5 separate regions of the Homo sapiens genome follow, and all the other regions are linked to region 1. The links are contacts of gene promoters, found by promoter capture Hi-C in blood cells and fetal thymus (Javierre and others, 2016). All regions are on one chromosome and are shown on one strand. Each heading gives the region's core, a stretch centred on a gene start or on the middle of the fragment in contact. The rest is flanking DNA. Distances are from core to core; before and after follow the strand shown. Region 1 holds the start of CT62 (cancer/testis associated 62). Region 2 overlaps THSD4 (thrombospondin type 1 domain containing 4). Region 3 overlaps THSD4 (thrombospondin type 1 domain containing 4). Region 4 overlaps THSD4 (thrombospondin type 1 domain containing 4). Region 5 overlaps THSD4 (thrombospondin type 1 domain containing 4).

The links. Contacts are between HindIII fragments. The CHiCAGO score rates a contact against its expected background, and 5 or more counts as called.
Region 2: a contact is called between a fragment that was not itself captured here and the fragment with the promoter of CT62 in region 1, in 1 of 17 cell types (naive CD4 T cells). The highest score is 5.4, in naive CD4 T cells.
Region 3: a fragment that was not itself captured here is called in contact with the fragment with the promoter of CT62 in region 1 in 7 of 17 cell types (M0 macrophages, naive CD4 T cells, M1 macrophages and 4 more); the score reaches 6.7 in M0 macrophages.
Region 4: a contact is called between a fragment that was not itself captured here and the fragment with the promoter of CT62 in region 1, in 1 of 17 cell types (endothelial precursors). The highest score is 8.5, in endothelial precursors.
Region 5: a fragment that was not itself captured here is called in contact with the fragment with the promoter of CT62 in region 1 in 1 of 17 cell types (endothelial precursors); the score reaches 17.0 in endothelial precursors.

Annotation. Positions count from the first base shown.
Region 1 is chr15:71,114,134-71,116,849 of GRCh38, reverse strand. It overlaps CT62 (cancer/testis associated 62), which reads left to right and starts at 1,346. Exons shown (of 4, transcript NR_168260.1): 1 at 1,346-1,926. It overlaps THSD4 (thrombospondin type 1 domain containing 4), which reads right to left and starts at 1,379. Exons shown (of 18, transcript NM_024817.3): 1 at 1,152-1,379. RefSeq lists silencers at 986-1,075, 1,226-1,365, 1,396-1,455, 1,302-1,479, 1,516-1,565. The HindIII fragment of the contact is 2,227 bases long and covers 229-2,455 here.
Region 2 is chr15:71,485,464-71,488,179 of GRCh38, reverse strand. All of the region lies in intron 7 of THSD4 (thrombospondin type 1 domain containing 4), which reads right to left. All of the region lies in intron 2 of LOC107984716 (a long non-coding RNA gene), which reads left to right. Among named protein-coding and RNA genes, the nearest start is that of THSD4-AS2, 200 kb to the left of the region's middle. The HindIII fragment of the contact is 229 bases long and covers 1,264-1,492 here.
Region 3 is chr15:71,459,568-71,462,283 of GRCh38, reverse strand. All of the region lies in intron 7 of THSD4 (thrombospondin type 1 domain containing 4), which reads right to left. Among named protein-coding and RNA genes, the nearest start is that of THSD4-AS2, 230 kb to the left of the region's middle. The HindIII fragment of the contact is 2,108 bases long and covers 320-2,427 here.
Region 4 is chr15:71,394,255-71,396,970 of GRCh38, reverse strand. The region is part of intron 6 of THSD4 (thrombospondin type 1 domain containing 4); the gene reads right to left. Among named protein-coding and RNA genes, the nearest start is that of THSD4-AS1, 210 kb to the right of the region's middle. The HindIII fragment of the contact is 5,021 bases long and covers 1-2,716 here.
Region 5 is chr15:71,374,800-71,377,515 of GRCh38, reverse strand. The region is part of intron 6 of THSD4 (thrombospondin type 1 domain containing 4); the gene reads right to left. Among named protein-coding and RNA genes, the nearest start is that of THSD4-AS1, 190 kb to the right of the region's middle. The HindIII fragment of the contact is 5,067 bases long and covers 1-2,716 here.

The sequences.
Region 1 (2,716 bases), core at 97-2,596:
GTAAGCCCAGTTACTCCATCACCTCCAACAATATTAATCAAGTAGAAGACACGCGGATTTTAAAAGCTGTGTGATCCTTGAAAAATCTTCAGACTGTCAGGGGTCCTGGGTGCCTCCAACTGTGAAAGGAGGGTTGGACAAGGCGATTCCTTAGATCTCTCTCGGGTATCTATTTCTCTAATTCCAAATTCCAACAGGCATCCAATGATTGCTACCCACGTCCAAGCTTTAGACTCATAGCCCGAAAAGGGCGAAGCGCAGCGTGGTAGAGATCGCAAAGGAGACAGGAAGAGAAGCAAGCATGCACTTTTAGTAAGACGGCAAAGGAGGCTGGGAGGTACGGTGCTGGGTGCGGACTGCTTAAAAAACTTACTAGACCACAAATTCCAGATACTTAGGTGGGCCCGAGAACGCCCTAAAATCCCCTTCCCAAGTGAGGGCTGATGTTATTTCAAATAAAAAGAAAACTTAACTTCCAGATCTGTAGAGCTCCAAGGTGAGCTCGCTGTGCAAAAGCTACTTCTGTAAGTGCGCCAAGGGGCCGCAGGTACTTAGGCTGCACTTGAGGAAGTGTCCAGAGTTGGCGGAAACAACCCATCCACTCGGGCTCCAGGCGCTCGCTGGGTTGCAGCAACTAAACTGAGACAGACAGACACACAGATCCGAGGCCCCAGGCCAGGACTCAAGGAGCGCTGACCGAGACTTGCCCGGCTCTCGGGCCCCAGGCGGGAGGGAGGCGAGGCTGAGGTGGGGGGCGCACGGGCTGGGTGTGCACTCGCCGGTCCCCTCCGACCCGACCCGGGGAGCACGGGGCCCCGACCCGGGGACGACTGAGGTGGATTGTCCCTAGAGTTTAAGACTGTCCCTAGAGTCGAGGGTGGAGGGATGAGCGCCGGCGCCAGCACAGAGCAAGACTCCCAGCAAGGAAGAGAACCAGAGAAGGAGGCGCAGCCGTCCGCACGGACCAGGCGCGCGCTGGCTCCCCGAGCCCGGAGCGGCGCAGCCCGCGGCGCCCCGGACACACCCACTGGGTAGCCCGCGCCAGCCCGCCCCGCCGGCCAGAGAGCGGGAGCCGGAGCCTGGGCAGCGGAAGCCGGGTCGGGGCCGCGCGGGCGGCGCGCAGGGGACGCGGGGCGCGCGGCTCTGCTCACCTGGCGGTCCGCGTCCCGGAGCGACCGGCGGCCGCCTCGCCTCGCCTCGCCCCCGCGTGGTTCCCGGCGCCGGGCAGCCCCGAGCGCCGCCGCATGGACGGCCGCCACCGCCGCCCAGCCGCCCCGCGCCCGCCCTGCACGGGCTCCCGCTGTGCCCCGATTCCGCGTCGGGCTGCGCGGGCGGCCAGCGGTTCAGGCGCGCGCGGAGAGCTCTGGCTCAGAGTTTGCGATCCGAGAGCGGGATCCGCGCTCCCTCGGTCCTTCCTCCCTCCCCTCTTGCGGCCTCCCGCTGTCATCTGGAGCCGCTCCTGCCGCCCCCTGGCGGCGACCGCGGGAAGGGCCGGCCCCCATCCGCACCCCTGACCCCGGAGGTCAACAACGGGATGGTCCCTGGGTCCCAGGGGAAGAGACATCACCCAGTAGGAGGGAGTACGGTCTAGACAGAGGCCACGAGGGCGGGAGGGGGCGAGAGTGGAGAGTGGCCCAGCTGGCCAGGGTCGTCTAAGTGAGAGGAAAAGGGAGAGGGCGGTTGAGACCAGGCCCTGAATTCCGCGTTCATCTTATCCTGAGGTCTGTGGGGACCTGTTGAAGGACTGGGGCAGGGGACGGACGCGGGCATCCTTCCATTTGGAACAGCCATTCCGGCAGCATCAGGATGGGGCGGAGGCAAAGCGGGGAGTGGGCGAGGCAAGTGGTGCTGTAAACCTGTGCGAGAAGGGGGCGGTGACTCTAAGGGCAGGAAGGAGCCCTGGTCACACACACACTCCCACGCAAGGTAGGACGCGCTGGGCTCCTTCTGAGGCCAAGGGGAAAGGACAAGAGCCCTCCAAATTCCAACGGGGGTTAGACAGCATGGGGAGGAGACACACACACCCTGACGGCCAGAGCCGTTCGGGATTCTTTCTTGTCTTATTCAGAGTAATATTTTGTTGGGGAAAAAAAAGCCTGCTGCAAAAAAATAATAATTCTTCTCATTAGTAATGATAAAAATCAAACTTTGATCCCTTCATTTTACGAATTGGGAAATTATTGCCCCCAAAAGGGCATGACCAAAGTGACGCGTTTAGTTAATGGAGGGAAAATTGCTAGGGCCCCGTTTCTTGAGTCCTAATTCAGAGCCAAATTCTTTACATTCGAGCCAAGGTGTTCAGAGCTGGGAAGGCAGGAAATAGAGTGACTGTGAGGAACTGTCTCTTCTTTCCCCAGAGCAGGGAGGGGGTGACAAATATTTGAAGAGGCTGTCCAGATACAGGCGTTTCCCTAAATTTCAGTCAGCCTGTTTGTTTATCGCTGCCTCTAAAGCTTGCCTGCAGGGGTTGTTTTGAAAGTGCAGGTATACCGAGAGGACAATGAAGGAGGTGGCAGAATGCAAGCTCCCTGCCCCAGAGCCAGGCAGCACCAGGGCTGGGTGCAGAGCGCTTCGTGGGAGCAGAAGGGAGCTCCCAGGGAAGATTGTCCTCCAGAAAAAAAAAAAAATTAACAAAAGGGAAAGAGGCTACTCAAGAGATTAGGCCAAAGAAAGAAACACCATTTTGAGCACCGACTACTGGCCCGGAGCCTGGCAG
Region 2 (2,716 bases), core at 129-2,628, 370 kb before region 1:
TATATTAGAATGTTCCCTTCATATGATAACAATAAATCTACCGCTGCCCAAGAGCTTGCATCCTGCTGAAGAGAGAAATACAAGAAGCATCTTCAGTAAACTCAGGAGCAGGACAAGGATTTCACTCTTACTTTTGTGCTAGAAGCAGCAGCCTACATAACTGAATAAGAAAAAAGAAAGTATGTGTAAAAAATTTGATGAGGAGGAATAAAATTATCATTACTTGCAGGTGATATGGTTACATACATCAAACACCCAAAGAGGAAAAAAATTAAAACCACAGAAATAAAAAAGAATTTATGAAGATAAAGTATATAAAATTATAGAGAAGCCAATAACTTTCATATTTATAAACAATAACCAGATTCAAGATATATTGGAAGAAAAGATTCTATTTACAATAGCATTTTAAAAAGATAAAATATAAGTCAATTTTTAAAATGTTAAAGTCACTTAGAAAAATTTAAAAATATTTCTGAAGGTCCTCAACAAACATTTGAACAACATTCTTGAATTATATACCATTTAACATGATCTTACTTTGGAGCTAGACAAATATCTACATGAAAGATTCTAAGCTGGCCATAAGGGGAACTGCAAACATAAGTCAAAGAAGATTTTTTTCTATACCATGTTGCTTTGGCCCTTATACACTGGTTGACAGTTTCTTGCAGGTTACAGCTATCAAGATGCTCATAAAATCTTTTATATATCCCGAGACTTAGAAAAGGCAATTGGATTTAGCAAGGAAGTGGTCACTGTTGACTTTCCAGAAAACAGTTTCCACAGAGTAATGGAGCTGAAAACTAGTCTGCAGCTGTTAGCAAAAGCCATTCATTCCAGTGCTTAAGGAAAACAACACAATTTCTTGCCTGCTTACAACAGTGGGAACTGATGCAAAAATCCCACCTTCCATCTCCAAACAGAGAGATAAGTTGGATAGAATACACATGTACACAAATCCCACATCGCTAAATTCAGAATAAGAAAGGGAAATCCCAAGGTGTCAGAAATGACGAGGAAATGCAAGGTCAGAAGCATGTTGCACTGGCATACAGCTGAATGTCTTACAGTGGTGTGAGAACCCAATAAGCCCTGCAAGGCTAGGATTTTAATGCAGTTTTAATAAAGTTCACAACTGAGACTGTGGTCAACTACTTCCCTGGCTGAAAGGGAGCTACATCTGAGAGATTTTCTCAGAATAAAGCTAAAAGCTTTCTGAACTGGTGGGCAGATACTCAATAGGTGGTGTCTTCAAAAGCTTAGTTAACATAAATCCTGGTTTTGCAGGACCCCGAAAAGGCAAATTCAAAATATTCTCATAGGTACTCCTCTTGAGCCAGGGGGTTAGCTCCAGGAAAAGGACCCTGCTGCACTAGCTCACACTCCAAAATTGCAAAGCGTGGGAGAATTACCTCACCATGAGCCAGCATTCACAACAAAGAAATTCACACCCGGGAGCTGCAGATAAGGGGCCAATCTGAAGGAAGCTTTTAAAACTATTTCTAAAATGTATATAGAGGTGGACAGAGGAGTGGGAAATAAAAAAAAAAAAAAAAAAAAAAAAACAGAAAAGAAACTTGGCATTAGGGAGGTAGACAACTAGTTCCAATGAAAGTTTCAGTAAGATGTGAGCGATAACTGCATGCATAACCAAAATGGTAAGCCATGTATGCCACTTATGCCACACGTAAGTGAGAGAATGGGCATTTACGGATAGCTGATTATATACCAGGGAGTATCCTAAAATGTAACTTTCTCATTTAATTCACATAACAAGTACCCTGTGGGGTAAAATCATCATTCCCACTTTTTAGCTGGGCCTCGGAAAATTTCACTTTCCCAAGGTCCCACAAGTGGAACTGGAAGTGGAATCCCAAACTAGCAAAGGGGGAGAAACTACAGCTGTTAAGGAAAAAAATTCAGGACTTAATATCTCCAATGAGGCAGAAGAGGATCGAGGAAGGTTTGATTTTGAAGGAAGATGGATACCACTTCAACTCTGACTCCGAGAAAGAGATATTTTGAGATAGAGGGGAGGGTGTGTAAGGGTGCTCAAGACTGAATGTTATATCCTGCAATATATAAAACTCCACATGTCCCTAAACTGAAATCACCTCTTACTCATGCAATTATTTTAGCAGGAGAGGAAAAAATGATCTGACTTCAATTTGTTCAGCATTTATTTTCTAAAAAAGGATATTTGCCACAAGTAATTACTGCAAAGGGGGAGCTATTCCTGGTTAGAAAGTTTTTAATCATGAAGTGGTATTTGACGTTCTAATTATTTCCACAGCTTGAAAAACAAACTTGTCACTGGGCTGTAGTAATAACTAAGTATGACCACAAAAAGAAAGCTATGCACTGTTGATATACACGGCCACTAATTTTATAGGAATAACACTAAAATATTTACCAGTAAATATTTGTCATTCAATGAGAGGTACTGTTAAATAATGTAGGAAACAGTTTTATTCTCTCTCTTTTTTTTTTTCTTAAGAGCTGTGGGCCCTGGACAAGTGGTCTGTAGAGGGCAAGAGAAAGAGTCTAGAATCTCCAGGCACTTCTGTCTCCAATTTCCATTTTCCTTAGGCCTCCTTCTGCCCAGCAAGGCTGGTAACATCAAATGCTCTGGAGGCAATGGTTAGCTCAGTTTTCTCTTAATGATCTCAAAACATTTCAAAGTTGAATTTGTAATAAGTTCCTCTTCTACCAC
Region 3 (2,716 bases), core at 124-2,623, 350 kb before region 1:
AGAGGCTGAGGTGAGGATCACTTGAGCCTGGGAGTTCAAGGCTGCAGACAGCCATGATCACATCACTGCACTCCAGCCGGGGTGACAGAGTGAGACCCTGTCTCAAAAAGAAAATGATCAGAACTAAGTTTAGTGAAGAGTTATATTTTTTAAAAGACAATATGAAAAAGAAAAAAGAAAGTTAGGCCTGGAAGACCTGTTAGATTTCTTCCAACTGTAAGGTTATAAGAGAGATGATTCTAAGATGCTTCTGGTCTTGTTTCTTCAGCTCTGAAGGAGCTTCCAACTCATGGGAGTTGGCTCGCCAACATACAAAGCTTCATGCCAGCCAATCTTGGCCACATATTTCAAAGCAGCAGCTAACAAAAGAACCTGGCCTGCACTCCAGGATGGCAACAAATGAATGGTAACTTTGTAAAAAGAGGTTCAGTTTTGATCTATTTGTTTAACTTTTCTCAATGCAGACACTAGAGAAGAAAAAAAAAAAAAAACCTGACAGTGCCCATATGTCTTCATCATAGTGGAAGAAAATCCTACTTGGAAATTATGATCAAAAGTGGACTCTAATATTGACTTTTCTGGACTGTATTTTTGTTTCTTAACAAAAATCATATTAAGTACGTTTGGAAAGGAATAATGCTTTTAAAGGACTACATATATTTTGACACTGTTTGGTAGCCATATTTAATACTAATGGACCCTATAAATCCCAACAGGATCTATTTGCTTCTTTATTTGAAATAACACTATGGAAATTTTCTACTAGAGGAGACTGAAAGTGCTGAAGGGCCATCGAGGGTGTGCTGACCCAGCTCTGAGATGGCAACTGGTGTTCATGCCCTTCTATAAGTCCCTCACACACTGAATAACACTGACCTTGTAACCAATAAGATTGCAGAGATGACAGGGTATGACTTCTGGGACTAGGTCATAAAATATATTGGGGCTTCTACCTCGCACTTTCTTAGATCACCTGGGGAAGTCAGTGCCATATTGTGAAGACACTCGAACAGCTCTATAGAGGTGCATGTGGCAGGGATCTGAGGCCTCCTACCAACAGTCAGTACCAATTAACTAGGCACATGAGTGAGACATCTTGCAAACAAATCTTCCAGCCCCAGTTAAGCCTTCAGATGACTGCAGACCCAACTAACATCTTGACAACAACCTCATGGGAGGCCCTAAGCCAGAACCACCCAGTTAAGCTGCTCCTGAATTCTAGAGTCACAGAAACTTTGTGGGGTGATAAATGTTTATTATTTGATAATAAATATGATAAATGTTATTGCTACCTTTGGGAATAATTTGTTATGCAGCAATAGTTAATGAATATGGGGGGGTTAACATAGAGCTACCATGAGTAAAACTCAGTTTTTCTCTGTAGTGCTTAAATAGTAGGGGGCCAACAAGAAGAACCAATATGTATAAACCGGGGACACAGGAAACCATACAGAAGATACAAGTTTTGTCTTTCCAGGACTGCAATGAATGATTAGGCAATGCCAGACACCAGCAAGGTAAAGTGACCTTGGCATTAAATACGAAACGTAGCTATCTTGTACGCAAACAGGTAATGTTCATAATTGTCCCAAGGCAGTCTTTTACTATTTTCACTGAAGAGACAGCTACCAGCCCGTCGAGAGAAAGGCCAAAACCCAGATTCTAAAAGTATCTGTTGACTTTAAATGGCCCAGGATAAATCAGCTCCCACAGAGTCAAGGGCATTACCGTCAGCTTCTGATGTGAGTTCAGGACTGGAGGTAACATAAACCAAGCTAGAATGTGCAAATATGTCCACATGCCATCCAGCCCTACTGGCAGGCAAAGGCATAATAAATTCAAGGTGGAATGTACACTGATCCATTAATTTGGGGAGGACAGGCATGATACTTAAGTGCCTTTTAATATACCATTCAATCTACTCCTGGGGTTATCTGGGACCAATGGCATGCTTTCAAAAAAAAAAAAAAAAAAAAAACCAGGCAACTTGTATTTCTTCTCCACCTTGCTTATCTACCTATATTTTTATGAATGCTGGTAAGTGATTAATTTCTTCTATTAGTGAGTCGGCTCAGAACATTGACCTAGCTTTCAACCTCTTAGCCATTCCCTTAGGGAATCTTTTCAGAATGTGCTCAAGAAAAAGAATTACCACTGGTATCGTGGGCCACAGAAATCAAGTGGATAAAAAGGGGACAGCTCCAGAGAAACATGAAAAAGGGGTCTTGACACCTATTATAGGATAGACATTAGTGTGGCCAGAAGTAGAAAATCAGAGACAGGCCCAGAGGTAGAGACCGCTGGTAACTTTGGGGCTGCAAAAGGTATGGTTGAGTGTGGCATAAGAGAAGTAGATCCGGGCTGTGTGAGACTGAATATATAGTCTTTAAGAGAGAACACAATCCAAAAAATTAAATGTATAAAGCTTATCTGCCTAATACCTCATCTCCCTAGAACGTATTAACCCACTCTCTACTCTCTAGTTCAAAGCAGCACACAATGAGCCAATCCTTTACAAAATAAAAATGTTATTCTTAAGTAAGGTTAGTTATTATATGTAACTTTTTAGTTTATATATATTCATTCCTAAGTTTGTATATATTTTAATATGAGGGTTCTGGGTCATTTTTACTTTGGGAATGTATGTGTTTCTTTTTGTATTTTTCAAATTAAAAAGTAGCCTGAAAAATACCAAGACCTGCTTCAAATATTCTAC
Region 4 (2,716 bases), core at 85-2,584, 280 kb before region 1:
TGTTCGTAGAAAGTTCCTAGACACATAGTTTCATGGGATTTGGCTAAGTGAACCTTGTCCAAGTTACCCAACCTTTTTCTGAAATGTTTCCTATTTCTCTCATGTCACATTAAATCCAAAGCAGGAAAAAACGACTGAAAACAAATGCCATTATGAAAAGGCACCATGCCGTTCAAAACTCTTCATGCTGTGTGACATGTTGTGTTACATCTTAAAATGTTATATTTAATAAAAAGTAAGTTGGAAAGGGGTTCTGCCAGTAGTAAGCCAGTCTGGCCAACTGTCAAGAAAGCGGCTTGACAGCTTCAGCAGAAGCGGGAGGTCATGGCCGGTGTTTTACAGCTTTGGAAAATGTCTAACTATCTGAGCGGATATATGTGTTAAAACACAGAATAGATACGTATCCTCCAGCAAGATGATGTGGCTGGGGTTTCTCCCGTCAGGAACTGAGGCTGTTGAGAGCTTTGAGAAGGAAGTCAGGGAAGGGAATTCTGGTACAAACTGCCACATAAAGTAAAGGTCTTGGAAACCAGAGAAAGTCAGAGGCAGAGGAAGTGGTAGCACCTCTGCAGGCAATACCCAGGGGAGGACGGCTTGACTTCCTATCCCCTGCTATTACCATCTCAGTAAAATAGGTATGTATACGTATAGGTATGTGTGTGTGTGTGTGCATATGTACGCATGTACATGTTTTATGTGTGTACATGCATATGTGTATATTATGTATGCATGTGTACATATGGTATAGATATGTGGGTGTATCAGAGTATGTATTTATAGGGCATATGTGTGTATGTATATACATGTGTCTACATGTATGTATACATGTATATGTAGATATGTGTGTGCACATCCACACGTTTCATTCAGAGTCTATTGGTACACGGCCAAAGCACTCAACAGCGATAAAAGCACACGGGTTCATCAGGTGGAAAAGGCTGGCACTTGAATGCGTGGGTCCACTCAGCGAATCCCGACGCCTGAACAACAGGCCATGTGCTCAACAAAGTCTGTGTTTGTGTGTGTGTGTGTGTGTGTGTGTGTGTGTGTGTGTGTCTCTCTTCAAAACACTGAGAAGCAGACTTGGGAGACACTGGAAAAGGAAGGTTGTAGCAGGAAGAGAGTTTTGATGGCTTCAGCAAAAGAATGTTCTGGTATGACATCATCCAGGAATTCAGGGGAAAACTCCAAGGAACCCCAGCTCGCACCATCTTTTTTTTGGGAGTCGGGGGACAGGGGCTTGTTCTGTGGCCCAAGCTGAAGTGCAGTGGCGTGATCTCAGTTCACTGGCAGCCTCTGCCTCCCGGGTTCAAGCGATTCTCCTGCCTCAGCCTCCTGAGTAGCTGGGATTATAGGCATGCACCATCATGCCCAGCTAATTTTGTATTTTTTGTAGAGGTGGGGTATCACTATGTTGCCCAGGCTGGTCTCGAACTCCTGAGTTCAAGCGATCTGCCCACCTTGGCCTCCCAAAGTGCTGAGATTACAGGTGTGAGCCACAGCACCCGGCCAGTCTCAACTTTTGACTGCAGAAACCAATGAGTGAGAATTGTCTGTGCCTCTGCCCAGTCCTTGTGAGCTGCCATGCTTAGCACAGGCTTTGCACCTGGGGGGCAGTGGAGCTCAGTGGGGACTTTTAGACTGGATGTCCTCTGTCACCTTCACGGCATGTCCCTTAGCAGCCTCCCAGAGGGCTCTTGGCTACTGAGCTCCCCGTTTTGGGGTTTAATAAAACCCACTAACAAGTGACTTTCAACATGTTTCATCATGTTACTCCTCTCCTCACAGCCATCCGGTCCTTCACCATCCTCAGAATATCCGCATCCGACTCCTAAGGCAGGTTTCAAGGACACCGCCCTCTTCAACTGGGCCTGTAACTACTCAATGGTTCTCCTCATTGTTACAGAAACACAGCAAAGGCATTCCCACCTCAGTGGCTCTGTTTCTTCTATTCACCTGTCCAGACTATCCTTGGTTCTCCAATCTGCCTTCACAAACCCACCTTCAGCATTGAGCTCCAGACCTACGACTCCTGGGAAGCCTTTCATACTGACATCTGTTCAGAAATATCTGTCTAGTGCTGAGTAGAAGCGGGTGGAGATGTCAGAGGGACTCACATTAATTTTATTAAATACACAAAAATGCAAGCAACTGTATAAACGCCAAATTGTAGCAAGTGCTGTGATGGCAAAGTCTCCCAGGGCATATACAATAGAGAAACGACTTAGTCCAGGGTATCAGGAAAGGTTTTACTGAGGAAGTGACTTCTGAACTGAACTGAAATCTGAAGGATGAGTAGGAGTTAGCTCTGTGAAGGAGGAGTAGGGAGGAAGACATCCCAAGCAGTAGCACCAGCCTATGCACATGCTCTGCGGCAGGAGGAGGAGGAGTGAAAAGGCCAATCAGGCACTGTGGCTCACGCCTGTAATCCCAGCACTTTGGGAGGCTGAGGCGGGTGGATCACCAAGTCAAGAGATCTAGACCATCCCGGCTAACATGGTGAAACACCGTCTCTACTAAAAATACAAAAATTAGCCGGCCGTGGTGGCACTTGCCTGTAGTCCCAGCTACTCAGGAGGCTGAGGCAGGAGAATCGCTTGAACCCAGGAGGTGGAGGTGGCAGTGAGCCAAGATTGCACGACTGCACTCCAGCCTGGGAAACACAGTAAAACTCCGTCTCAAAAAAAAAAAAAAAAAAAAAAAAGACAAATGTGTT
Region 5 (2,716 bases), core at 139-2,638, 260 kb before region 1:
TTCCCTTCCCCTGGGGTTGTTCCTTCCCTGATTCTACTTTTTTCTCCACCCCGATGCAGACATTCCCCAAGGGTCATGGCTCAGAGTCCACAGCTCCTTCCTCCCCTCTCCCCTTTCCTGCTGTCTCCTAGGATGGGGAACACCCACATTCCTGTTGATCCTAGCCCACATACTGCCTGTGGTCCTGGATTTCCATTCACCTGCTCAGCATTCCCACCAGGATTCCCTGCTTTCACCTCAAACTCATTTAGTGTTAATTTCAAGTCCTCAACTTCCTCTCACATCTGTTCTTCCCCACTGGGCATCCCTCTTTGTGTCAGGTTTGATGTTATTCCAGTCACCTTGACTCTTCTCTGTCCTTTACCCCCTTCATGAAATCAGCCATCCTGCCACATTGATTCCCTCCTGGGAGTGTCTCCAGAATTCCTTTCTCACGTCCATTTCTTTCCTCTTCCCACAATCAGTGCCACATCAGGCCCAGATAACTGTGGCCACCTCCTTTTGGTCCCTCCCTGCACATCACCCTGCACACACCTGCTAGGTGAGTATTCGTACAGCATCTCCTTAAGGTGTCACCACCTTCCCCAACCCAGAGCCTTTGGTAGCTCCCTCCTAGGGCATGAAGTTTAAGCTCCAGAGCTGGGGGATTGAGACCCTCAAAATCTGATCTTACCAATTGTTTGCTGATGTTTCAATCCAATATGTCTCGGCATGAGTTCTTAACCCAGCCAGACTGATCTACTTACAGACCTAATCATATTTTTCATATTCTGACCTCATGCCTTTGCTTATACTGGTCCCATCACCTGGGATCCCTTTCTTGGATAACTAGCACAGGTTGAGGAGACAGCAGAGACTAGGAGTCTGTGAACATAAGTTGGCCTGGTTTGGGCAAAGAGTTTGCAAATGGGAGCAAGGGGGAAAGATTTGTTTTTCTCAGGGCAGATCAGAATTATGTGTGTCCCAGGGGAGATCCAAATGATCTGACCCAACCACAGAATGGCCAGAAAAAGGTTGCAAGTCAGAACAAGGGTTGGTGGTCTGGCCAAACAGTGACAGGGCAAACTATCAATCAAGACCCAGAAGAGTGGTGGTATGAAGGAGGTGAGTATGGGACTGGTGTGGGAGACTCAATCATGGTAAGAACAGTGTCAAGAAACAGGACATCTAAACTAGGGCATAAGGAAGGAGGCTGGGTCCTAAAAATTCAGAGCATGAAGATCAGAAGAGAGCCTGCAGCCAGGCCCTCAGACCTGAGCACTGCCTTCATCTTGTCCTACATACATTCAGGATTGGCTCCAGTCAGAGACAGCACATGCAAGAGGTGTGAGCAAAGGATGTGAGTACTCCTCCTCCTGCACCCATGACAGACATTACTAATCAATTCTGGCACTCTTTCACCTTGGGCACAGTCATGGTCTCAGAATCTCTTGCATAAGAACTCTCGCCATTAATCAACTGCAAGTAGCAGGAGACAAACTCTATTTGTTATGCATAATCACAAAGTCGCAGGTAGGGCCTAGTCGGTATGTGACAGTACATTGGTCTCAGTGATAAATAATACAGAGTCATAGTAGAAAAGTGCTAGGTCAGTTGTTCTCAAACTTTGAAGTTCACCATAATCACCTGGAGGGTTTATTAAAACCCAGATTGCCAGGGTCCTCCTCCAGAGCCTCTGATTTAGTAGGTGTGGAATGCAATGGAATGTGAAAGCAAATTTGGGAGTGAGGCCCGAATTTGCATTCCTAACAAGTTCCCAGGTGATGCTGATGCTTTTGGTCCAGGGACCGCACTTTGAGAACCACTGCACTAGATAAAACCACATCCTCTCTCCTCTTGTTCTTAACTTATCTTTCAAGGCTGGCTGGAACCCCTTCTCCTGGGCTTCAAATGACCCCTTCCAACTCCACTCACAGAGGACATCATCAATACTGCTTGTGGAATCTGTCAACAAACATGTATTGTGCCAGGAGTAACACAGACAGGCAAAGTCCCTGCTCCCAAAAAAGACACAGTAGGGGGCTGGGGAAGAGTGACCCAAACAACTGAACAGGCAATTACAATTCAGTGTGAAAGTGATGGGAGGGGAGAAGCATAGGCAGCGATGAGAACACAGAACCAGAGCATCCAACTCGGTCTTGGAAGGTCAGAAAAGGCTGCTCAGAGGAAAGCACCAATGAGGTTGAGATGAAGATGGAGAGAAGTTGTCAGGAAGAGGGAGAAAACATCACTGTCTTGGGCTATTTCCCTTTCGCACACATATGTGTCCACATGCACATACTCTGCCTCATCTCTCCATGTAAACTGTAACATACTTGGATGAAAAGATCATCTTTAGTGTACACAATCCTCGTGGTGCTCGGTCCCTGGCAGACATGCAGTTTTTATTAAGTGAATGCATACATTTGCAACATCCTGGAATTGTTCTACATTTAGGAAGTGGGGGAAATGGGGAAAAGGGAGTGTGAGGAGATGTGGATTTGTCTGAAATCCCTTCTGTGGGCTTCTGGGGATTTCTGTGGCTGTGAGGATTTCTCTAAATACCCGCAGGACAGGTGATTCCACATTAAGCCCCTACAGTACACCCTTTCTTAGTCTGGGAGGCTCACTTTTACCAAGCAGCACGTCTGTGCATGGTGATTAATGGTCTGCTGTCCTAGCCTTTGTGTCTACCCAGCCCAAGCCACCATCTGTGAATAGTCTCTTGCTTGAGTAA